Linked DNA regions of Homo sapiens: regions 2 and 3 are each linked to region 1. The links are contacts of gene promoters, found by promoter capture Hi-C in blood cells and fetal thymus (Javierre and others, 2016). All regions are on one chromosome and are shown on one strand. Each heading gives the region's core, a stretch centred on a gene start or on the middle of the fragment in contact. The rest is flanking DNA. Distances are from core to core; before and after follow the strand shown. Region 1 holds the start of STIM2 (stromal interaction molecule 2). Region 2 holds the start of PI4K2B (phosphatidylinositol 4-kinase type 2 beta). Region 3 holds the start of SEPSECS (Sep (O-phosphoserine) tRNA:Sec (selenocysteine) tRNA synthase).

Region 1 (3,313 bases), core at 302-2,801:
GTCTTACAATTATTGTAGGAAATCTACAGATCTACTTTAAAAATAAGTGAAATACTAAAAAAAAAAAAAAAAACCATTATTTTAGCTCCATTACTTTTCCCAAAGAAATCATTTCAGGGTCCTTATATAATAACTTTTACTTAAACCACAACTGATCAGTTGTACATAACACCGGAAGGCTTTAAAAAGGATACAATTCTGCACTTAACCTTACAAAACACGTTTCCAAGTTTTCAATTATGAGATCGTTCTATATATTAAAAAAAAGGTGCTAGTGCAGTCTATCAGAACTGTGCTGCCAGCTGCAAGCCCCGAGTATGCTGCACTTTGCAAATTTTAGGTATAATTTCTGGTTACCTGCTGAGGTTTCTACACCCTTTGTCACCCAGTGATGCTCCCACCACCAAACACTTTCCATCACCACTTAAAACGGCCTCCTTCCACCCCGCAAAAAATGCACTGTAAACTTAGGCATTTCTGCATACTAACACGGAACCACTAATATCACTAGGTATTATGGCTCTCAAAGAATCCCCTTTAGCAGGCTCCCCTGGGACGCTGTGCTCAAGCGGAGCTTTGAACCGGTGAGACTCGCTGCCAGCTGCCTTTGCAAAAGCAGCACCAGAGGTAGACTCAATACCGCAATGCTGCTGCTGACTTTTTCTAGCAGCCTCAAAAAAAAAAAAAAAAAAAAAATCAGCCCAGTCCCCTGCAGACCCTGCTGGCACTTCTGCAGCACGAAAGAGAAACCACCGCATTGCTCAGCTTGGAAGATCGGAGAGCCCGACTGAAGGGAGGGGAATCAGTGCCGTCGAGAGGCTCGGCGAGGGCGGGGTGTCGGGGTGAAAAGGAAAGACGTCCGGAGTGCAGGGGACCGCGACGAAGCAGCAGGCAGGGCTCCGCATCGCGCCCTGGCCGGAGCCGCGGAATAGCGGACGTCCGGCGGAGATGCTGACCTCTGCACGGGTTGGGGGTCCCATCGCTGCCGGCCGAGCCCCGCCCGCCGCCCCCCGGCCCCTCACCTGTCATGAGCGCCGGGCTATCGCCGGCCGCCGCGGCGGGAGAGGAGGCGGCAGTTGCGGCAGAGCCAGTCGCCCGCCGCCCGCGGAGGTGCCGGGGCACAAGCTCGCATCCGTCCGCCGCTCCGGCTACCAGCAGCCCGAGCACCAGCAACGCAGCCCAGCGCCGCCGCCGCAGCAGCCAGCCCCACGCTGGGCCAGGAGTCGAGGCGGGATGAAGGCGCCGAGGAGAAGCCGGGTGAAAGCGCAGCGGCGCCCCGGCCGCCTGCAGCTCGCCGGCTCCGCGAGGCGCCACCACCGCCGCCGGCGACTCCTCCGGCCGCCCCCGCCGCCTCAGACACGGGCTCCCGCCGGGCGCCAGCCTGGTCCCATCGGCACCGGCGGCCTCCGGAGCTCTGATCCCGGCTGCGTTCATTGGTTCCGGTTATTTAAAAAAAAAAAAAAAAAAGGTGGGGGGTAGAAAGGTACGGCGTCTTCAGGCGGTGCACGACACCCGCGCTGCTGCTGCGGCGAGACCGGGATCCGCTGCTCTGGCGCCGCCAAACACCAACCCCAGCTCCCGCGCCGCCGCCGCCGCGGCGCATCCCCCCGCCCCCTCCGGCCCGCGCTGGTCGTAGTACCACGCTCCGCCGGGACGCCTCCCTCCCCTCGCACATTCGCTCGCATACCAATCCCCCGCCTCCCTCAGGCTCTCCACGGCGCAGGCGCGGCGCTGCTGTACTGCGCGTGCGCGGCATCCCAGCCCCGCCCCGGAGGCGTTCCTAGACGGACGGTAGTACCGTGGGGCGGCTGATAACGCTTTAGCGAGCCGCGAAGATAGGAGGCGGGGAAGAAGGGGGACGTGTACCTCTCCCTCATTCACGGTACCACCGCGAGGGGGAGTGGGGGGCTACAAGGGGACGGAGAGAAGAGTCCAGACGTCCCACATCCTGAGGGCGAGTTTCAGCCTCGTAGAGGGCAGCGAAAGTAATTGCATGGATCAGGAAAATCTTGCAATCGGAAAACAGCAGCGTCCCCGTAATTTCAATATAGGTGGGGCTTACAAGTGGCTGGCTGTTTAGACGCGGTTAGCATAGCTTAGCGTTTTATTTACTTGCCAAACATTTCACAAAGCGCGTGCTATGTGTGAGTGTACCAGGCATTGCTCTAACCGTTTTACACATTTACATGCTATAACTCCAAAATTATCGTTACCCCCTTTTACGAATGAAGAGACTAAGACCTAGAAATGTGAAGTAAGTTGTCCCCAATATCCCACAGCTAATTCATGGGAAATGAGCGAGATTTAGCAGCCACTGAAAAGGCCTATTTAAGAGAATTTACTTTAGCCTCTGACTCTCCTAGGTACATTTACCTGAACTCATCACCTTCCCACCCCCATCCCATCGACTCTGTGCTGTATCCTGAACCGGCTGACAGAACAATGATGTAGACTTGACTTGTTTTCGCCAACCTGGAATGAAGCAAAGCTCTTGTGCACCCAAGATCTGCTCTCTGTTGTAAATCCTGTTCAGACCTGGTCTAATTGGTTTGAATAAATAAAGAACCGGAATCTTTCTCATCCAAACTAGTTGCCAGCATATTTTTAAGGCCACCTCCCTTCAAATTTAAAAGGAAGTGTTGAATGTACTGTCACTATAAATTAAAAGCCCTGGAAATTCACACGCAAGGAGGCATTCTTTCTCCCAGGGGCACAAAATTGTTTAAAATTTGCAGATAGGGTTATTAAACACGAAGATCCTTTTGCTATTGGGTTTTGTTGGTTTCATTCTGCTTATTGGTTTGTTTGCTTGCTTTCTCAAGCCAAGAAGATACTCAAATTACATTCTCCTAAAGTATTTCTTAGGTAGCCTGGCCAAGATAACCACAAATATCGTTTATTGTGGAAGGGCAGATGCACACTTTAGAAAAGAATCAAGGATGTCTTTGAGGCTAAGTCAATCTATCAACAGTTATTTCTCAGCAGACTTCTTGTGGGCATAGTGTTCAGGTGGCAATTCTTTATAGGGCAACCGGGAGATTATATTTCCCCTGCTGAAAGGCACAGCGATGAAGTCACACCAGAGTGCTGAGTGCCCACCAGAGAAGATAATTCTGCTAGGGGACCAGAACAATATAAATAACAAGCTTGTTCCTGCTCTCCAGGAGGCATTTCATTTATTAAATGTTTACTGAGTACCTAGTATGTGCCAGGCAGAGTACTGAGTGGTGAGGGTTAGGCAAGAGAGACACTTGAAAAAGGCAATTAAGTCAGCAGTCAGGGCTATGAGATAAACAGCACAGTCCCATGACTA
Region 2 (3,374 bases), core at 105-2,604, 1.6 Mb after region 1:
AGTACATTTAAAATCTAACAATTCCAAAAAAAACTAAGCAGTGTTAAAGAAACTTCCATTTTCTGTGGTTTTTAAGTTGTCATGTGTGAAGCGATAAACCAACCGGGTGCACAACATCTCATTTAATCCATCCTCACAACCAGCAGGGAGGTGTACCATCGCCTTTTTACAAACAAGTCTGTCTCACCTCTAGCTGAGAGTCTTACAAGTCTCTTGCTATTTCCATCACATTTGTCTAACTCCATTCAACACGCCAGAAAAACTCACTTTATTAATAAATATCCAGGCCTGCACAGCATACCTAAATTTAACCTTCAACATCATTTCAACTGCCCTGTTTCGCCTGAGGTTATCAGTCCGCTTAATAGCGAAAAGAGGTTTTTCGTTTTGGTTTTCTTATGTATTAGAAGTAAATCAAGAAAGAGAAACTAAACTGTAAGAGGGCAGGAACAGACTTTCAACTGCTTTTGCCCCCTGTGGCTAACTTCATAATAACAACATTTAATAGAAAAAGGTTTTGAAACGTGCCCCAGTGGCAACTGGATATTCTGGCTGTCCATCTCTCTCCTGTCATCCACTTTGCAAATTCACCACTCCGGGAACTTTCCTGAGAGTTCAAGGTTCTTAATTCAAAAGTCAAGTCCAAACTTGAGCAAGGACTTACGTCATTTTACAGCGTTAACCTCTCCCCAGTGTCGGTTTCTAGAAGTTTTGACTCACTTTGCGGGGAGGTCTAAAGAATCGGTTTAATGACAACCACTGGCCTTAGGAGAGGGAGCTCCCGGAGAAAGAGCGAGCAAGCTAGGTGCCCGCGGTGCGGCTGCGGCTGGCGCCGGTCCGAGCTCGGGAGCTGCTGCCCAGCGAGCGGGGAAAGCCCGTCCACCTCGGCCAGCGCGCGCGGGAGACAGGACCGAGCCGGGCGACAGGGGCAGCCGCCCGGAGGGGCGCGGGGAGTGGGGCAGGGCCGGGTCGCACCTGAAACCGCGGGGCGGCTCCGGTCCAGCTCGGCGGACGAACTCCGGGAGACCCCCACGTCCCCGGGCGGGAGGGGCAGCTCCTCGTCGCCGGCCTCGCCCTCCTCCCCGGCAGCGTCCAGCAGCCTCACGGCGCTGCCTGGGGCGCCTCTCCGCGGGTGGGCCCAGGCGATCCGCGGTAGCAGCGGCTCCCGCTCCCCATCCTCCTCCTCCTCCGGGCTCCCGCCGTCCGCGGACGCCAACCGGTCGGGCTCGGAGGGATCCTCCATGGACTCCCTCTGCTCCCTCCGCGCTGAGACCAGATCAGAGCAGCCAGGTGCCAGAGACTGGGCTCTGCATGGCGCGGAACGGGAGCGACCGGGTAGAACGGACGCCACCTCACCAGCGCACGGGCACGCTTGGCGCCCGCCCAGCGGTTGTCCCGCCTCGCCGCCGGCCGCGCCCCACCTCGCGCCTCCGCCAGGCACCACCCCCGCGCCTGCGCAGAAGGGTCGTGGCGGCGGCGGCGGCGGCAGCGGGGCACGTGGGAGTGAACAGGGGGCGGGGCTTTTGAGGGGTCAGGTGGGGTGGGGCCGCCACCTGCTTCCGTGAGCGCGGGGAGAAGCTGGGCACAGCTCGCTTTACTCCCAGTGGAGGGCGGGAAGGTGAGTAATTTTCAAAGAGGTGCCCTCCTGCAACCAAAAGCGGCTTCTCCCTGACAGAATTCTCTCTCAGAGTTTACCATAATCTGTAACTATAGATTTAATTGTATGACATTTCTTTCCTCCAGTAGACGTCCAGGAGGGCAGGGACCTTGTCTTTGTTCAGATATTCTTGATAGTGGCAGTTTGTATGTTTTCTTTTTCTGACTAATCTAGCTAGAAGTTTATCAATTTTTAAATCTTTTCAAAATGTCATGTTTTGGTTCCATTGATTTTCTGTTTTCTGGTCCATTGCCTTATTTTGCTCTTTATTGCTCACTTGAGTTTTGATTTCCTCTTCTTTTTCTAGTTGCTTAGAGTAGAAGATGATTGATTCTGGATCTTTCTGCTTTTCCAATGCTAGTATTTTAAGGCTATAAATTGCCCTCTAAGCACTGCTTTAGCTGAATTCTCCTTTTTTTTTTTCTTGGTGGTTGTTATTTTTGAGACAGGGTCTCACTTTGTTATCCAGGCTGGAGTGCAGTGACACAATCATAGCTCACTGCAGTCTCAACCTCCTAAGCTCAAGGGATCTTCTCAGCTTTAAACTGTAGAAGACACAGTAGCTGGAACTGCAGGTGTGCACGACCACATCCTGTTAATTTTTAAATTTAAATTTTTTGTAGAGATGGGATCTCACTGTTGCCCAGATTGGTCTTGAGCTCCTGGTCTCAAGCAGTCGTCCTGCTTCAGCATCCCAAAATTCTGGGATTACAAGCATAAGCCACCTTGCCTGGCCTGCTACTGTGCTTTTGTTTTCCTTCAGCTGAAAATAGTTTTTAATTTCCTTTATGATTTCCTCTTTGACCCTGTAAAGGAAAATAAAAATCTCAGAACCACCCCCCACCCCCAACTTGTTATGTCAAAGGGAGAGTTAAGCCTGGAGACTGAAGTCACTCAACACTACAATGCTTTTCCCAAATGGATAGCTGTTACTTCCCATAGTTGTATTAAAACTTTATATGTTAGCCAGACCCTCCTCAAAATGCAAAAAAAAGCCTTATGCATCTCAGTCTCAGGATGACTGTCCTCAACAAATTAATCATAGTAAATTCTTTACTGGCCCTTAAACCTTTCAAGATGTATATCCTTCCATAAAACAAGGACGTGTCAATTGTATAACTTTAAGTCTGCAACCTAAATCAAACTGGTACAACTAAAGTCTGTTAAATTTCACATGGATAAATTCAGTTACAAGCTTATCTTCCCAGATGCAGAACAAGGATAAGATCAATCATTCCTTCACCTGAGATATCTGTATAATTAACTTCCTTTACTCCATTTTCTTTGAATATTCACCTTATCTTATGCATAGCATAGAGTTACTGGGCACTACCTAAAGTCTAGCAAAAATGTAACCATTTGCTTCACCACCTACAACCCTCTTCCCTGATGCCTTCTCCGCTTTAAAGAAAGAATAGCTGTAATTACAGGTGCCTGCCACCATGCACGGCTAATTTTTGTATTTTTTAGTAGAGATAGGGTTTCACCACATTGGCCAGGCTGGTCTCGAACTCCTGACCTCAGATGATCCACCCGCCTCGGCCTCCCAAAGTGCTGGGATTACAGGTGTGAGGTACTGCACCTGGCCTGTAAATGCCTTTTAATTGGAGTTTGGGGTCCATTTACATTTAATGTAATAATGATGTGGTTGGATTTAGATCTATTATTTTGCAATTTGGGTTTTATTTGCTTTAACCTTTTCGGTTCCTCTGTTCCT
Region 3 (3,039 bases), core at 349-2,848, 1.7 Mb after region 1:
AATAACCTGAAGAGCATAGATAATAGTAAAATGTAAAATAATTAGGAAGTGACAAATTTTGAGTATTTTTACTTTTGCTTGTAATATAATTTTTGAGTGGCTGTATTTGAAAACTAGCTCACAAAATTACTGAACATTTAACAATCAGCTCTTGCAAGTGGGTGTGACTCAGTGCAAATGGACAAACCACCAGGTGAAAGCAATGTCAGGAATTACTGTAGGCTCACATAAGATGAAGATTGTAAGGAAACTGGAGGCAGGGATCTCCAGCAGTGAACCTCTAAGTTGTTGAACTGTTACAGCACTGCCAGGTTCCTATGCCGGCTGTGCAGAAACAGACCAGTATTCCGACAGCAGGCTTGCAGCAGAGAAAGTTTTAATAATCACAAGTTACAAGCCAGGAAACAGGAAGAGTTCTCAAGCTTCAATCCATTTCATCAAGGGGTTCTAGGCAAAGTTTTTTAAGGGGATTTGTGGAGGGTGAGGGGCTGGAAAATTTGGGGTTATCGATTCGTTGGGGTAAGGGAGATGAAATCATTAGGATGTGACAATTGCATTCCTCCATGAATCAGCTTTTTATTGGGCCTTCCAGACAAGTTGGCGTCCTTAGTTTTGTTGGTATGCGGGACCTAAAGAAGCAATGCAAACAGAAAGCTTATCTTCTCATAATGTCTTAGATTTTATCTTCAGAGCAGAAAAAGAATGAAGAGTCTTGTGACAAGGGCCACATTCTCCTGGGGTAGTAAGTAGCAACCAGCTACAAGAAAGTCGGCCACACTGCAAGCTGGCTTAATAACAGCAGCTGTAAGCCTAGTTGGATTTTTTTCCCCTCCTTAATCAATTTTACAAAATGTTCTTGGGGATAGTTTCAGAATGGTCAAACTAATTCATTAATTCAATATCAACTTTTTTTTTAGGCCCTACTTTATTCTGGGCACTGTTTTAGGTGCCCGGGGGAAGGGGGCACCGCAGCAAAAACCGAGGTCCTGCCGTTAGGTTAGAGAGTTTACATTCATGGGTATGGGTGTGTGTGTGTGTGTGTATAAACAAACGTCTGGCATGTCACGTGGTGAGTAGTAAGTGCTATGGCTAAACAGTAGTGTCAAGGGGAAAATGAGTGGGGCACTGCTATTTCCTATGGGGTTGTGAGGCAGTAATAAGTGTGGAAATGTATCAAAGTAAAGATCGAAGGTTCTGGCATCTGACAGTTTGAATAAGGCGGAAGCACAGACCCTGCACAGATCTCAACCATCCAACAGGACTGAAACACAGAACTTGGAAAAACCCACGTACCTGCTTCTTACTCTGCTCGCCCGGTCTGCACAAGTGCAAAATCCTTTCCTGAAGTTTGTGTCAGGAACACCAGGGTTTAACTAGACGAATCAGCCGCAGCGGGGCGGGGCTAATTTCAGTCCTTCCTTTGCCAAAAGTCAGCGAAAAGCGCGGACTCCCTCGCGCATGCTCAAATACGCCAACTTCCTCCTGGAGCGCCATCTGAGAAGGTCTGCGCATGTGCACGAACGAGAAGTGTTTTTTTTGTTTTGTTTTGTTTTGTTTTGTTTTTTGTCCCAAGGCGCTGCCGTACCGTCCAGGCGGCGAGTTGCATTCTGGTTCCGTCGTGTGTCTGGCGTGTGGAGCTAGTGCTCCCGCTTATTCGCCACTGTCGCCACCGCTGTCATGAACCGCGAGAGCTTCGCGGCGGGAGAGCGGCTGGTGTCGCCGGCTTACGTGCGGCAGGGCTGTGAGGCCCGCCGCTCGCATGAGCACCTCATACGGCTGCTTCTGGAGAAGGTACCGAGCTGTCGGTCCCCTCCCCAGCCGCCGCGACCCCGGGGCTCTGGCTCCGCCGGGCGTCCCCGCTGGTGCTGCCTCACCGGCAGCTCTTCGCTGCTTGAGACTAGTCCCAAGTCTGTCTCAGCTTGGCTTGCCCTAGCTGACCGACTGCGGTCTGTGCCTTCTCAGCCTTGCCAAAGCCAGTGAAAGCCAAATGGTGTTGTTAGGAGGGGGTGTTGGGGTCGGGGTTTTGAGTCCCGCTGTTTCTAACTTCGGGATGCGGAAGTGAGGGAAAGTCCCAGTGTACTTTTTTATTCGCGGAAAGGGCAAAGTTCGCACCTCCATCTTTCACCAACCCTCAACGACTCAGAACACATAATGGTGTTTGTAGACTGTATGCTAACTCGAACCACGAGCTTTCCGCGGAACTTCACAGGTCTCCCTCCTGCCAGCGTTCATGTATTTTAATTTCATTAAAAGTTTTGTTGTGTTTTGTTTTTTTGAAACAGAGTCTCGCTCTTTCGCCCAGGCTGGAATGCAGTGTGACGATCTCGGCTCACTGCAGCCTCCGCCTCCCGGGTTCACGCCATTCGCCTGCCTCAGCCTCCCGAGTAGCTGGGACTACAGGCGCCCGCCACCACACCCGGTTAATGTTTGTATTTTTAGTAGAGATGGGGTTTCACCATGTTGGCCAGGCTGATCTCAAACTCCTGACTTCAAGTGATCGGCCATTCTTGGCCTTCCAAAGTGCTCGGATTACAGGCGTGAGTGAGCTACAGCGCGTGGCCAAAATTTCACTGAAGTTTGACAACTACCGCCCTTCTCCACGTCCCACCGCCCCAGTCGTAACGCCCTGGTTTGAAGCATCTTCACTGGGGATGTGTTGTATTGGTTTTCAGTTAGTTTCACTTACGGAAATTTAAATATCTCAGTAAACCTCATTGTATGCATTTATCATCACTTCTCGAAATCTGTAAATAATTGTAATCAAATGTACAAACGTTTTGCCTCTTTGCGGTCTCTATACAGTGGTGAATTTATGCTTGAATTTTAGAAAACAAGCAGCGTGGCAAAATACACGTTAAAAAGAAAAACTGTATTCCTGTAGTATTCTAGAGAACGGTAGTTTTATTAAATATAATCATAAGTTTTTTTTTTTTTTTAAGGGCAAGTGTCCAGAGAATGGCTGGGATGAAAGTACACTTGAACTCTTTTTACATGAACTTGCAATCATGGACAGCAACAATTTCTTAGGCAATTGTGGTG

What was found. Contacts are between HindIII fragments. The CHiCAGO score rates a contact against its expected background, and 5 or more counts as called.
Region 2: a fragment that was not itself captured here is called in contact with the fragment with the promoter of STIM2 in region 1 in 1 of 17 cell types (non-activated CD4 T cells); the score reaches 6.7 in non-activated CD4 T cells.
Region 3: a contact is called between the fragment with the promoter of SEPSECS here and the fragment with the promoter of STIM2 in region 1, in 1 of 17 cell types (total CD8 T cells). The highest score is 6.4, in total CD8 T cells.

The regions. Positions count from the first base shown.
Region 1 is chr4:26,859,079-26,862,391 of GRCh38, reverse strand. STIM2 (stromal interaction molecule 2) reads right to left here and starts at 1,551. Exons shown (of 12, transcript NM_020860.4): 1 at 1,023-1,551. The coding sequence starts at 1,173. It overlaps STIM2-AS1 (STIM2 antisense RNA 1), which reads left to right and starts at 1,793. Exons shown (of 2, transcript NR_134674.1): 1 at 1,793-1,882; 2 at 2,364-2,768. RefSeq lists silencers at 855-1,424, 1,435-1,804 and an enhancer at 1,895-1,994. The HindIII fragment of the contact is 3,345 bases long and covers 1-3,148 here.
Region 2 is chr4:25,232,033-25,235,406 of GRCh38, reverse strand. It overlaps PI4K2B (phosphatidylinositol 4-kinase type 2 beta), which reads right to left and starts at 1,374. Exons shown (of 10, transcript NM_018323.4): 1 at 976-1,374. The coding sequence starts at 1,243. LOC105374535 (a long non-coding RNA gene) reads left to right here and starts at 1,542. Exons shown (of 4, transcript XR_925490.3): 1 at 1,542-1,618. RefSeq lists enhancers at 485-614, 547-1,046, 1,047-1,548 and silencers at 835-894, 935-1,174, 1,275-1,584. The HindIII fragment of the contact is 3,001 bases long and covers 1-2,854 here.
Region 3 is chr4:25,159,008-25,162,046 of GRCh38, reverse strand. It overlaps SEPSECS (Sep (O-phosphoserine) tRNA:Sec (selenocysteine) tRNA synthase), which reads left to right and starts at 1,598. Exons shown (of 11, transcript NM_016955.4): 1 at 1,598-1,791; 2 at 2,940-3,039. The coding sequence starts at 1,678. It overlaps SEPSECS-DT (SEPSECS divergent transcript), which reads right to left and starts at 1,375. Exons shown (of 2, transcript NR_037934.1): 1 at 1,294-1,375. RefSeq lists an enhancer at 1,335-1,634 and a silencer at 1,745-1,914. The HindIII fragment of the contact is 2,962 bases long and covers 657-3,039 here.